Regions from separate parts of the Homo sapiens genome. Here all the other regions are linked to region 3. Evidence: promoter capture Hi-C in 16 types of primary human blood cells and fetal thymus (Javierre and others, 2016). All regions are on one chromosome and are shown on one strand. The core of a region is centred on a gene start or on the middle of the fragment in contact, and the rest is flanking DNA. Distances in the headings are between cores, read along the strand shown. Region 1 overlaps WAKMAR1 (wound and keratinocyte migration associated lncRNA 1). Region 2 holds the start of ZNF337 (zinc finger protein 337). Region 3 holds the start of APMAP (adipocyte plasma membrane associated protein). Region 4 has its middle 41 kb from the start of GGTLC1.

Region 1 (2,700 bases), core at 117-2,616, 890 kb before region 3:
CTCTCTCTCCTCTCTCCCCAACTTCTTTCTTGTGATAACCTTTTCACCTAACATGACATTACCAAAAATGTTATTTCAGTATGACTAATGAATGACTAAATTCATTCATGAATTCCTCAGGAAAAAACCTTTCCCTGGCCTCCTTGAAGTCTGCCCTCTGTGCCTTTTCTATGCATTTTCATGATGACTGTTATTATATAAATATCCTTCTGTCACATCAATTCTCAGACTCTTTAATCATCTCTTTTCCAATCTAGGCTGACAGATTCTTCAGCATAGGGAGAGATGGTGTCCAAAGCTCTTTCTACAAACTTTACCACTCAATCTGGAACATAAGTATGCTGAAATGTGTCTGTTAAAATGAATGAATGGATTCTCTGAAAGTACTTTATTATTTCAGTAGAAGTTTAGAAAGATGTTTTCTGCTCTGTTAGAATGAGATTATAGTACAGGAAGGGGGGTAAAGACAGATGGAAACTTCAATATTAAGACATTTCTGTGCATACAATTTTTGAGATGCATTATTCCAATTAATGATTAAAAAAAGAAATAGAATAAGAGCCAAATTCTTCTTCTGCTTTTAGCCAAATATCCAAAGTTCTCTATGTTAGATGACCTCAAGTTTACTGTGATCTGTTCTCAGCATTTGCAGAAGCTGGGAGTTTTGCTTCATTTTGTTACAGATGAGGTGGCAGGAACAGCTGAGTCGGAGTCTGCTTTTCACGGATTGCTGTCACAAAACATCCAAAATGTCCTTATCTCAATGCCTGGGAGTGTAGGGCCTGATCCCCAGCCTAAACTCCTTTCTAAGTGGGTAGAAGCCAGCATAATGAAGGAGAGCCAGATTTCCTGAAAACCTTTTATGCAGTAAAAGGTAATAAAGCCCCCCAATACTTGGGGCTGAAACTCACAATTATTTATTATTTCTCACAGTCTCCAGGGCTGACAGCCTGGGCAGTTCTTCTGTTGGTATCCCCTGGCTCCTACATGTGCTGTAGCCACTGGTGTTGACCAGGCTGGAGGGCCCAAGTTGGCCCCATGGCCATGCTGGCAGGTGGTATGGCTGTTGGTCGGGGTACCTCCGTGTGCCCAAGTAGCCTCTCATCTTCCAGGACGCTGATCCAGGACTCTCCACAACACTGTGGTCTCAGTGTTGCAAGGGAGTGAAGGTGGGGGCTGTAACCTATACTGGGGCTCAGGAGCCTGCCCAGTTCATTGTCCCCCACTGTCCATTCATCAAAGGCAGCCACGGGAATGCCCAGGTTCAGGGGTTGGGAAAGAGACTTCTTCTCTCAACAGGAGGCATGGCATTGTAAAGGCCCTGGAGCTCATGGGGGGTCCTGAACCAGACGATCTGCCACAGCACAGACCGCATCAGTACAAGTAACTTGTATTGATCTAGACTAGTGCTAGCTTGAGACTGAGACAAAATTAGAGAGATTCACAGTAACATCAACAGTTGCCATAAAGGCAACAGGCTTGGAACAAAGCAGTGGATAAAGAGAAAAGCCCTTGCCTTTGCTCTGTAGCAGGGACTGTCCTGAGACATGTATGTGTAGATGTGCTCATGGGCACTGGTGAGGGGAGACTCGATTTCATCCTGAGCCTGATCCTGAAACATGGTCAGCCCACAGTGCCCCAGGGAAAAGACTGACCGGAGACAGAACTGTGATGGAAAGTTCAGTGCTGGAATCAGTGAGGCCAGGGCAGGGCTGTGAGGCAGTGGGATGAAGAGGGGCAAAGATACCACCTGCAGCTGCCATGAAAGGGAGCATTTCTCTACATCCATGAATGGAGTCGTTGAAGGAGCCCAGGCTGCCCGTATCCTCTATGGCCACCACTTGTGGGTTCCAGCTCCTCTGAGCTCTCAGTCTGTAAAACGCCATATGCAGAGAACAAGTGCATCTGTGTGTGTAAGGCATCACAGACAAAAAAGTGAAATCTTCTAGATTTTTAGAAGCACTGGGAAACCAGTGGTCCTTAGTCCAAAATCATCTGGTTCTGATGCTTTTGGAGTAAGAAGTCTCCCTGGGTATAGAGTGTGCTGCTGGGGTGTGGCATGAGGACCACTGCCTTTGAATGACTGGTGATCTCACGATGCTTTAACGGGGTGGGGAGGTGCAGCTTGCAGAAAGTGGCCCTCTCAGGATGGACTGGAATAATGGGGAAAAGACTATGATATCCCATAAAATTGAATCATGGGGAAAAGACTATGATATCCCATAAAAGACTGTGGGGTTCCAGAACTGGCTCCTTATTTTCTGTGGTGACACATGGATGTGGTGTCTGGACACCTCACTGCTGGTAGAAATATATGAACCTAAGCATGGAGAGTCAGCATTGCACAGAAACAAACAGGCAGCAGGCTCATCCTGGGAAACCTGGGCCTGCACAGAGGCCGTGCTCCCAACACCAGGAATCCTGCGCTGATGAGTGGGCTATGCAGGGGTAGTTGAGCTGAGTGATGGAGTGCAGGGGCTGATAGGCCCCCCAGACTGATGCACAGGGACAAAACCCTCCATGCAGGGAGCTCTTGTAGGAGCCCTGGGTGTCAACATGGAGTTTAGAGAAGCATTGGTGATGCATAGGTGAGGGGTCCTCTTGCTGCAACCCCAAAACTAGTGAAAGGAGGCAGTCCCTGGTGGACAGCCACACATTCCCCAAGCCAAGGGACAGAGCAGAGGTCCCATGGGACCACAT
Region 2 (2,844 bases), core at 136-2,635, 700 kb after region 3:
CCTAAGTGCCCCCATGAGGTGTAAACCCTTTGGAGATATACCAGCTTTTTGGGAGGAACCCGTGTATATCTTTCTCTTATTGATTTATGATTTTCTTTTTGGAGGCAGGATCTCGCTGTGTTACCCAGGCTAGCGTGCAGTGCAGCCAACATAGCTGGTTACAGCCTCCACCTCCTGGACTCAACTGACTGGGCCTCCCAAGTAGCTGAGGCCACAGGCATGGGACACCACGCCCCGCTAATTTTTTTATTTTTCTAATTTCATGTAGAGACAGGGTCTTGCTGTGCTGCCCAGGCTGCTCTGGAACTCCTGGCCTCCCAAAGTGCTGGGACTACAGGCATGAGCCACACTGCTCAGCCTGATTTATGACTTTACCTGAAATTCCTGTCTCCCTGAATTGTATAAAATTAACCTGCAAGCCTGACCATCTCGGGCACTTTCACAGGACCTCTTGAGGCTGAATAACCTGGGCCACAGTCACTCATACTGACTAGGAATAAACCTTTTTAAATATATTTTGGCAGAACCCGGATTTTGCCGTCATTAGCAAGGCCCCAGGGAAGAGGCCACCTGGGTCCCCACAGCCACCTCACCTCCCGCGGACGCTGCCCCACGCAGATCCCCCCCCCCCCCCACCAAAACACGTCTAGACGTGCCCGTGCGAGGACATTTGGTCCCGGCCTACACTCCTATCCGCGGAAGATCGTCCCAAGGCGGGGTGCTCCCAACCCAAAGCAGCGGCCCTTCCCCAAAACACGCGGGCGAAGTCCTCCCCTGTCCCGCCTCCCACAATAAAGTCTGGAGCATCAGAGTCGGAGGGAACCCGAGTCGGACCTAGCCCATCCGTCTCATGGCTGTAACCCCCACCCCACCAGTGGACCCTGGCTGTGGCCGAGTCCCCCTCCACCTCCGGCCAAAAGACCCCCGTGGCAGCTCGCTAGGCCGCTGGCCCGTCCCCACCCGAGGAGCGGCGACCCTGGCACAAGAGGACCTGGGTTGCTCGGCGCCCCTGTGAAATCCGGGCTGTTCACCGCCCGAGCCGCCACTACACGCAACCGGGAACGGAGACTGAGTGGCGGCCCAGACCCGGGGCGCTCGGCAAGCCGCAGCCCCACCGCCCACTTCAAGGCGCGGCCTGGGTCTCCGCCCCTCCCCAGAACGCGGAGACGCCGGGCCTGGAGGAGCGCGCGCTACGGCCCCAGCAGCGCCCTCACGTCCCAGGCCTTCCCGGCCCTTCTTCCTGCGCCGGAAGGGCGCGCTGCAGAGAGGGACCCGCAGGAGCGCAGCTCACCGGGGCGGCTGAGGGCGAACCGAGGCGGTGAGGTCACCGATGGTGGACCACGCATCTCACGGCTCGCTGACGCCCAGGGATCTGGAACGCTCTGCGCCGCCCGGGACTACACTACCCAGAATCCTCAGCGCGGCCGGGACTACGCTACCCAGCATCCTCGGCGCGGCCCGGAGGCTATGCGACCCTGCGCGTCGCATCCCCTCGGTGGACTACACTCCCCAGAGTCCTCGGGAGTCGTCCAGGTACACGCCCCAGAATATTGGTCATAGCGGTCCACCCGGGACTGCGCGACCCGGAATCCTTGGAAGGACTTCTCGGAAGGACTCCTCTCTGACAGGTGGGGCGAGCCTATGGTCGTTTGGACGTGGAGGGATCCTTTCAGAACCGGCGATTTCTTTTATTTAGGTAGCCCTATACATACATTAAGCATATTTTCCCATTTCTATGATATAGGTAAATAATTTTCCCACTGTCTTTTGATTATGGGTATGTCTTTTTTTTTTCTTTTGTTTCTTTTTTTTGCTATGTAGTACTTTTGATCTCTGATTTTCCTACGGATTTTGTGGTTTTATCATTCACATTTAGATCTCTCAATGGTTTAATTTTTCTCCAGGTACACACTGTAAATATACAATTATTTTTAAAATTTTCTAATATTTTATTAATTTCCCATTAAATTTATTAAAAATATAGTCTTTTACCAAATAATTTAAGGTTTCAGCTACATAATTCAGTATACTCAATTTACATTTGCATTTCAATTTCTAATTGTTCCCCCATTTATCTAATTATGCATCAATGCCAGAATTCTTTCATTATGTAGGGTGTATAATATGCTGATATCTTTTGTGGCTTGCCAAACCACGTAGACTTTATATTTCAGGCCTTTACTAGGTATACTTGCTGTTTGCTTTTTCTCTTTTGGTTTTTAAATTTTTAATTATTCTGGATAAATATTAGTTGTACATATTTATAGGGTACATGTTATGTTTTGATACAGGCATACAGTGTTTAATGGTCAAATGAGGGTGATTGGGGTATCCATCCCCTCAAGCATTTAGCATTTCTTTGTTTTAGGAAGTTTCCAATTCTCTCTTATTTTTAAATATATAGTAAAATTGTTCTTAACTATAGTCACTGTATAGTGCTACCAACTACTAGATCTTATTCATTCTAACTGTATTTTTGTATCGATTAACAAGTCCCTCTTTATCTCCTCTACCCACCATCCTTCCCAGCCTCTGTTAACTATCTCATTCTACTCTCCATCTCCATGAGTTCACGTTTTTAGCCCCACAAATGAGTGAGCACATGTGATATTTGTCATGCTGTGCCTCATTTCGCTTAACATAATGTCCTCCATTTTCATACATGCTATTGAAAATGACAGAATTTCATTCTTTTAATGACTGGCTAATATCCCATTGTGTTAATGTACCACACTTTCCTTATCCATTCATCTGTTGATAGACACTTTGATTCTATATCTTTACTATTTTGGATAGTGCTGTAGTAAACATGAGAGTGCAGATATATCCTTGAAATACTGATTT
Region 3 (2,779 bases), core at 157-2,656:
GATTGTCCCAGTTTGCCCAGGTTTAGCACTGAAAGTTCTACATCCTTGGAAACCCCAGTCCAGGGCAACGCAGGATGGTTGGTCAGGATATATGGGAGCATCTTCCCGATCTTTTCACTGGCCCAAGGAGTCAACTATCACCGCAAAGTCTTCTCTCTAAATTGCCTCTCTAGAGCCTAAATGCTCCTTCCTGCCATCGCTCTCCTTCAAATGTGTTCCTCTTATCATCAGTCAATAAACTCAGTCTACAGGGGCAAAAACTGCCTCTCATTCATATGTACCCCACCACCTCTTGGCACACTACTGATGAACAAATATTTCCAGTATTTCTATCAAATATAAGTCAATCAGTCCCACAACTTCAAGCTTGGTCTATGGGGCCTCTTGATTCTCCCTGAAACTTAAAAGTTATGAAATTCAGGACACAGAATTGAAAAGTGAATTTTAAGTATCTTATATTGAAATCTATGCTTACGAATCATGATTCAGTTTTTAGCTAACAAAACACAGCATTCTTATATTCTGAAAGATGGGAGAGGAGGCAAAGGGCAAAACCTGATATTTCTTAGGTGTCAACAACTACAGTTTCCTATGTTTCTCCATCCCTATCAGGAAAAACTGCCAGGCTGAATTCTCACAAAAATTGCCTACAATGTCACTACTGTTCTCCACTCTTTCCAAGAACCGCGGTGAGGACTGGTCACGCAGCGTGAGGGGGGCAGGTGCAGAAGAGCAAGTGTAGAAGCCATCTCTTCGCCGGATAACGAGGCAGGACCCCAGCATCTCGTGGGACCTCCTCCCTTCGGGAAATTGCGAGCGGGGAACCAGGAACACGCAGGGCCCCGGCCAAGTAGCTGTGCTCAGGGGGATCATTTAAGCCAAAGGAAGGACAGCGCGAGGGGAGCGAGGGAAAGGCGAGGAAGCAACCGCTATGCAGGGTGGGGCAGGAGTGAGGGAGGGAAGGCAAAGGAGCGGCGCGAGGCGGTCTCGGGTCCGGAGAGCCGAGGACAACGCGGCGACTGGGCGCAGGGTGCACCCGAACCTGAAAGACCTGGCAGGTACATCCGCCTTGTCGGAGCCTGCTTCCTCGGAAAAATGAGTTTTTCTTGGGGATGAAACGAGAGGACTCTGACAACGCGCTCGGCACCGCATCCCCAGGTTACTGTTACTGCCGTCGCCGCTGTCCAAGAGGGTCGCCCTCCACTCCTAGCGGCCCGGCTCCAGCGCCCAGTCTGGGAGTCCGCCCTACCTGCCGTCCTTAGCCTCCGGGGCCTGGCCATCATCGTCTGTGACGACCTGCGGCCGCAGGGGCCGGCGCTGTCGCAGCCCGTCCGCCTCGCTCATGGTACGGGCGCCAGCCTCACCCGCAGAAACCACCTCACACTGAGCGGCGCCGGCTCAGACTCCAGGCCCGCCCTCCCCCGTACGCGGAAATGACGTTGCGCCCAGGGACCATTCCGCAGCGTTCTCCCCGCCCCTTCCGGCCTCATGGGCGGGAGGTCCCCGGCGCGTCGTTGCTCGGCGCTCTGAGGCTAATTCTGACCGCCCGGAAGTGGGGCTCGGAACCCGCTCAGAGATAGCACCGGGAGCTGCCGGGGTCCCCGCCTGTCTCGGACTCCGGGGCCCAGAACGCGAGTGGTTCAACCTCGGGCTCGTCTAGCCCAGTGCCTGCGCATGCCGCCTTCGTCTCACGTTTCTGAGGACGGGGATGCTCATGACGCACTTGGGAATTGCTAGCACGAGATGTTGGCCACTTTTATCGTTGGAGAGGATAGCGCTGTTTATTCAGTGTCAGCGACCCTGCTCTTACAGGCAGCGTCAAAAATAATGCATTCACACCCTTGGAACGAAGTCACCTCTGCCTGAAAATTACATCCTTCCCCGACTCAGCCGGTTAAGGGGAAAACTTGGGCTAGAAAATGTTTCCCTCTGGTTAAGGCCAGATGTTGAGTATTAAATCTTTTTGTGACGATTACAACAGACATTTGATAAAGTTTATTAAGTTTTGATAAAGTTTATTAAGTTTTGATAAAGTTTATTAAGGATTACCCTTAAGTAAAGTCCAGGTAGAAGTAGAAATTATCACTAACAAAGTTTAAGAAAGCATAGAGAGGCATTGTTCTTTCAACAGTATTGCAGGAAACCAGAAATGTTCCCAGGTGCTGGGAGACGATGGTGGGCAAATCACAGACAAGGCCCCTCCTTATAGAAATTAAACTAGTGGGAAAGATGACTTTAATCAGATCATCATCATAAAATAGACGTAAAATTATCAAACGTAATAATTGCTTCAAAAGGGAAGAGCTGAATCTTGTGAGAGCATTTGAGATTCAAAGAGGAATCGAATCTGGAGGAAGTGACAGGCAGAAGAAATCAAAGCCCGTTACCAGTGGCACGAGGAATTATCTCTGGAAAAGCCATGTTCAAAATGCAGTGTTAAGAAATAATTTCCTCTTGGAGGCTTTTACCTTTTTAAATGCTAGATGGCACTAGAATTCCATGTGAATGCTTTTTATTTATTCATTCAAAGAGCGGAAGAACCAGCTTGAGGGAAGTGGAGAGCTGTGCAAATCCAGTTCTCCAGAGATCCCAGGTAATAATTCAGGCCTCGACAACATTTTACTTCATTCTGTGTCATTGAGAATAGCCAATACAGCTATTAAATCAGGGATAGTGTTAACAAAGTACTGTATGATCTCACGCCTTCCTGCCTGTCTGGACTATCCCTCTTGCTCCCCACCCCCCATTTCAGACATTCAGGATGGCTTAACATGTCTAA
Region 4 (2,768 bases), core at 239-2,738, 960 kb before region 3:
TCTACTTTCTATTTCTTTTTCAGGACTGTCTTTTCCAACCTTACTTTACTCATCCATTAAGTTTTAGAAACCTACAACCACATACACAATGGAAAGCTTGTTGGGGTTTTGGTTGTGATTGCATTTGAGGAGCTTATCGTTACAATATTGAGTGTTCCTACTCATCGTAGCTGGGCTATGGGCTATTTTTCTTTTTTGATATATCTAAAGCATTATAACTTTTTGGAACAAAAGAATAGGATTTCTTGAGTTTAGGCAACCATCTGGAATTAGAAGTCTATTTGCAACAGTGTTTCACAGAGATAAACTCAGGACTCAATACCATAAAGCAAAGTACAGGGAGGAGAGGGGTTGGGGAGAGGACTAAGCTTCAGGTATTTTCTCTGTGTCGGATGCCCCTTGGGTGTCATGCATGCAGTATTTCAATTTATTCCCATGAAACCTCTATCTAACATGTAGCATTTTCTCCATGAAATCAAGACCCAGTTATGTTAAGCAAACTATCAAAGCTCAAACCCTGGTAAAAAGTGACAGGGCTAAGAATTGGAGAAGGCCACTTGGATTTCAAGCCAGGCTTCCCCAATATCATCATGACAAGTGTATTAAAGAAATTCGAAAGATTTTGCCTGGCTTTCTTGAGGTTGATGGATTGGCTTATTGTCTTGGCTAATGCTTTCTATCAAATTTTTAATTATTACAATAAATTTTATTTTTATTATTTATTTATTTATATTTTATTTTTTGAGATGGAGTTCCATTCTTGTTGCCCAGGCTGGGGTGCAATGGCATGACCTCAGCTCACTGCAATTTCTGCCTCCCTGGTTCAAGTGATTCTCCTGCCTCAGCCTCCCGAGTAGCTGGGATTATAGGCGCCCGCCACCATGACTGGCTAATTTTTTGTATCTTTAGTAGAGACGGGTTTTCACCATGTTGACCATACTCGTCTTGAACTCCTGACCTCAGGTGATCCACCTGCCTCAGCCTCTCAAAGTACTAAGATCACAGGCGTGAGCCACCACGCCCGGCCTACAATAAATTTTAGAATAATATCCTGCATAGGCTGATAAAAAGTTTATGACTTTAAAAAGTGTCTATCCACAGGCCAATTTGGCAGAGATCAAGAGATATTTTGTCATCTTTCCATCAGCAGATGTTGGTGAACTTAACACTTGAAGGAATAAAACAGCAACAATGCTGTCAGTTCTGGAGAGGCGCACAAGATGGGCACAGCTGTTGCAATGTTTTGAGAAAGGACATTAGTTTCTTCTTAGTCTCCATCGTCATATTCTTCTTCCATAACCTAGGGGGCAATTTATTACCAGTAGAAATAAATTGCATTGTGTACCAGCTCTGGCTTTGAAGTTTTCATTTTCTGTCTGTGTAATAACATGCTATGATTATGTATGAACTTCTAAATGGGAACAGAGGAGACTTAATTCCATTACATTTCCCTGGAGAAAGGAAGTCTAATTCAGTTCATACACAAGGATTCTTCTTGTTATATAACCGTAGTGTTTGGAGCATTATTTTCAGAGTTGTTGACTGTGGCTTGATGAGATTTTATTTTATGTAGCCAGTCCAGGCTACCAATATTTGACTTAACTTGAGAGGCAATAATACAAAGAATTTTCTTCCTTCTGAACTTGTAAAATGTACCTGACTTTCCTGCCCCAACCGTAGGGGAATATGAATTTAGCTCTGATAAAATTTAGCATCTAAGTTAATTTTGCTCTCTCCTTTCCACAGGCTGAATGTTTTTCTACCAATGCATAAGATCTACCAGCCACAGACAGGCACTGTTTTTAGATGGTCTTGAGGCATCTCATTTTACAAAGGATATAGAAACAGACGGATGCTATATAGAAACTGGTGGAGTGGGGTGGAAGAGAAGACAGAAGACAAGGGTTATAATTTAATCATATAAACTCTGGATGCAATAACCAAGGTCTCCCCAGAAAGCTGTCAGTGTATACTTGTGTGGTGAGTAGATTTCTAATCAGCTCTAGAAGGGTGGCCAAACACAGCTAAACTGTGTCTTTTAGTAGCAGGAAAAGCATCTGCTATAGTTTAGATGTTTGTCCCCCAAACTCCATATTGAAATTTGACCCCCAATATTGGATGGGGGCCTAAGGGGAGGTGTTTGGATCCTGAGGACAGATCCCTCATGAATGTCTTGGTACTGTCCTCACAGTGAAGAGTGAGTTCTCACACTATCAGCTCCCTTGAGAAACTGGTTGTCAAAACAAGCCTGGCACTCCCCATCCCCTCACCACGTGGTCTCTGCACACACGAGCTTCCATTCACTTTTCATCATGTATGGAACCAACCCGAGGACCTCATTGGAAAGAGAGTGGATGCTGGCACCATGCTTCTTGTTCAGCCTGCAGAACTGGGAGACAACATAAACCTCTTTCCTTTATAACTTACCCAGACTTGAGTATTTCTTTGTAGCAATACAAACAGACAAAGCATCTGACAAGCAAGTTGTTCAATGAAGAGATTGTTAGAGCCTGGGGAAGAGTCATCATGTTCAATTGGTACAAGATGCAATTAACTAATATGATTTGGGACAGCTGTCTCCATTGAGGTCACCAGGGTGTCATGGAGTGAAGCTTCAGGAGGAAGAGCTGACTACTTCCTACCCTGGGCTCCATTTTTGTCAGGGCTCTACAGAGAGACAGAACTGACAAGATATAAAGAGAGGAATAAAACAAAAATCCAGATATTTCTATAAATCCGATTATTTGCCAAATTAAATGTGAAAGCTT

The links. Contacts are between HindIII fragments. The CHiCAGO score rates a contact against its expected background, and 5 or more counts as called.
Region 1: a contact is called between a fragment that was not itself captured here and the fragment with the promoter of APMAP in region 3, in 1 of 17 cell types (total CD4 T cells). The highest score is 7.0, in total CD4 T cells.
Region 2: the fragment with the promoter of ZNF337 here is called in contact with the fragment with the promoter of APMAP in region 3 in 3 of 17 cell types (total B cells, monocytes and total CD8 T cells); the score reaches 9.8 in total B cells.
Region 4: a contact is called between a fragment that was not itself captured here and the fragment with the promoter of APMAP in region 3, in 1 of 17 cell types (total CD4 T cells). The highest score is 5.8, in total CD4 T cells.

The regions. Positions count from the first base shown.
Region 1 is chr20:24,102,876-24,105,575 of GRCh38, forward strand. All of the region lies in intron 1 of WAKMAR1 (wound and keratinocyte migration associated lncRNA 1), which reads right to left. Among named protein-coding and RNA genes, the nearest start is that of WAKMAR1, 7.7 kb to the right of the region's middle. RefSeq lists an enhancer at 1-873. The HindIII fragment of the contact is 4,651 bases long and covers 1-2,700 here.
Region 2 is chr20:25,695,468-25,698,311 of GRCh38, forward strand. It overlaps ZNF337 (zinc finger protein 337), which reads right to left and starts at 1,386. Exons shown (of 5, transcript NM_015655.4): 1 at 1,292-1,386. It overlaps LOC107985400 (a long non-coding RNA gene), which reads left to right and starts at 1,574. Exons shown (of 2, transcript XR_007067557.1): 1 at 1,574-1,696. RefSeq lists an enhancer at 790-899. The HindIII fragment of the contact is 13,942 bases long and covers 1-2,844 here.
Region 3 is chr20:24,991,345-24,994,123 of GRCh38, forward strand. APMAP (adipocyte plasma membrane associated protein) reads right to left here and starts at 1,407. Exons shown (of 9, transcript NM_020531.3): 1 at 1,250-1,407. The coding sequence starts at 1,344. RefSeq lists enhancers at 960-1,460, 1,019-1,078, 1,099-1,178, 1,309-1,548, 1,461-1,961. The HindIII fragment of the contact is 12,703 bases long and covers 365-2,779 here.
Region 4 is chr20:24,027,909-24,030,676 of GRCh38, forward strand. No RefSeq gene overlaps it. Among named protein-coding and RNA genes, the nearest start is that of GGTLC1, 41 kb to the left of the region's middle. The HindIII fragment of the contact is 2,244 bases long and covers 367-2,610 here.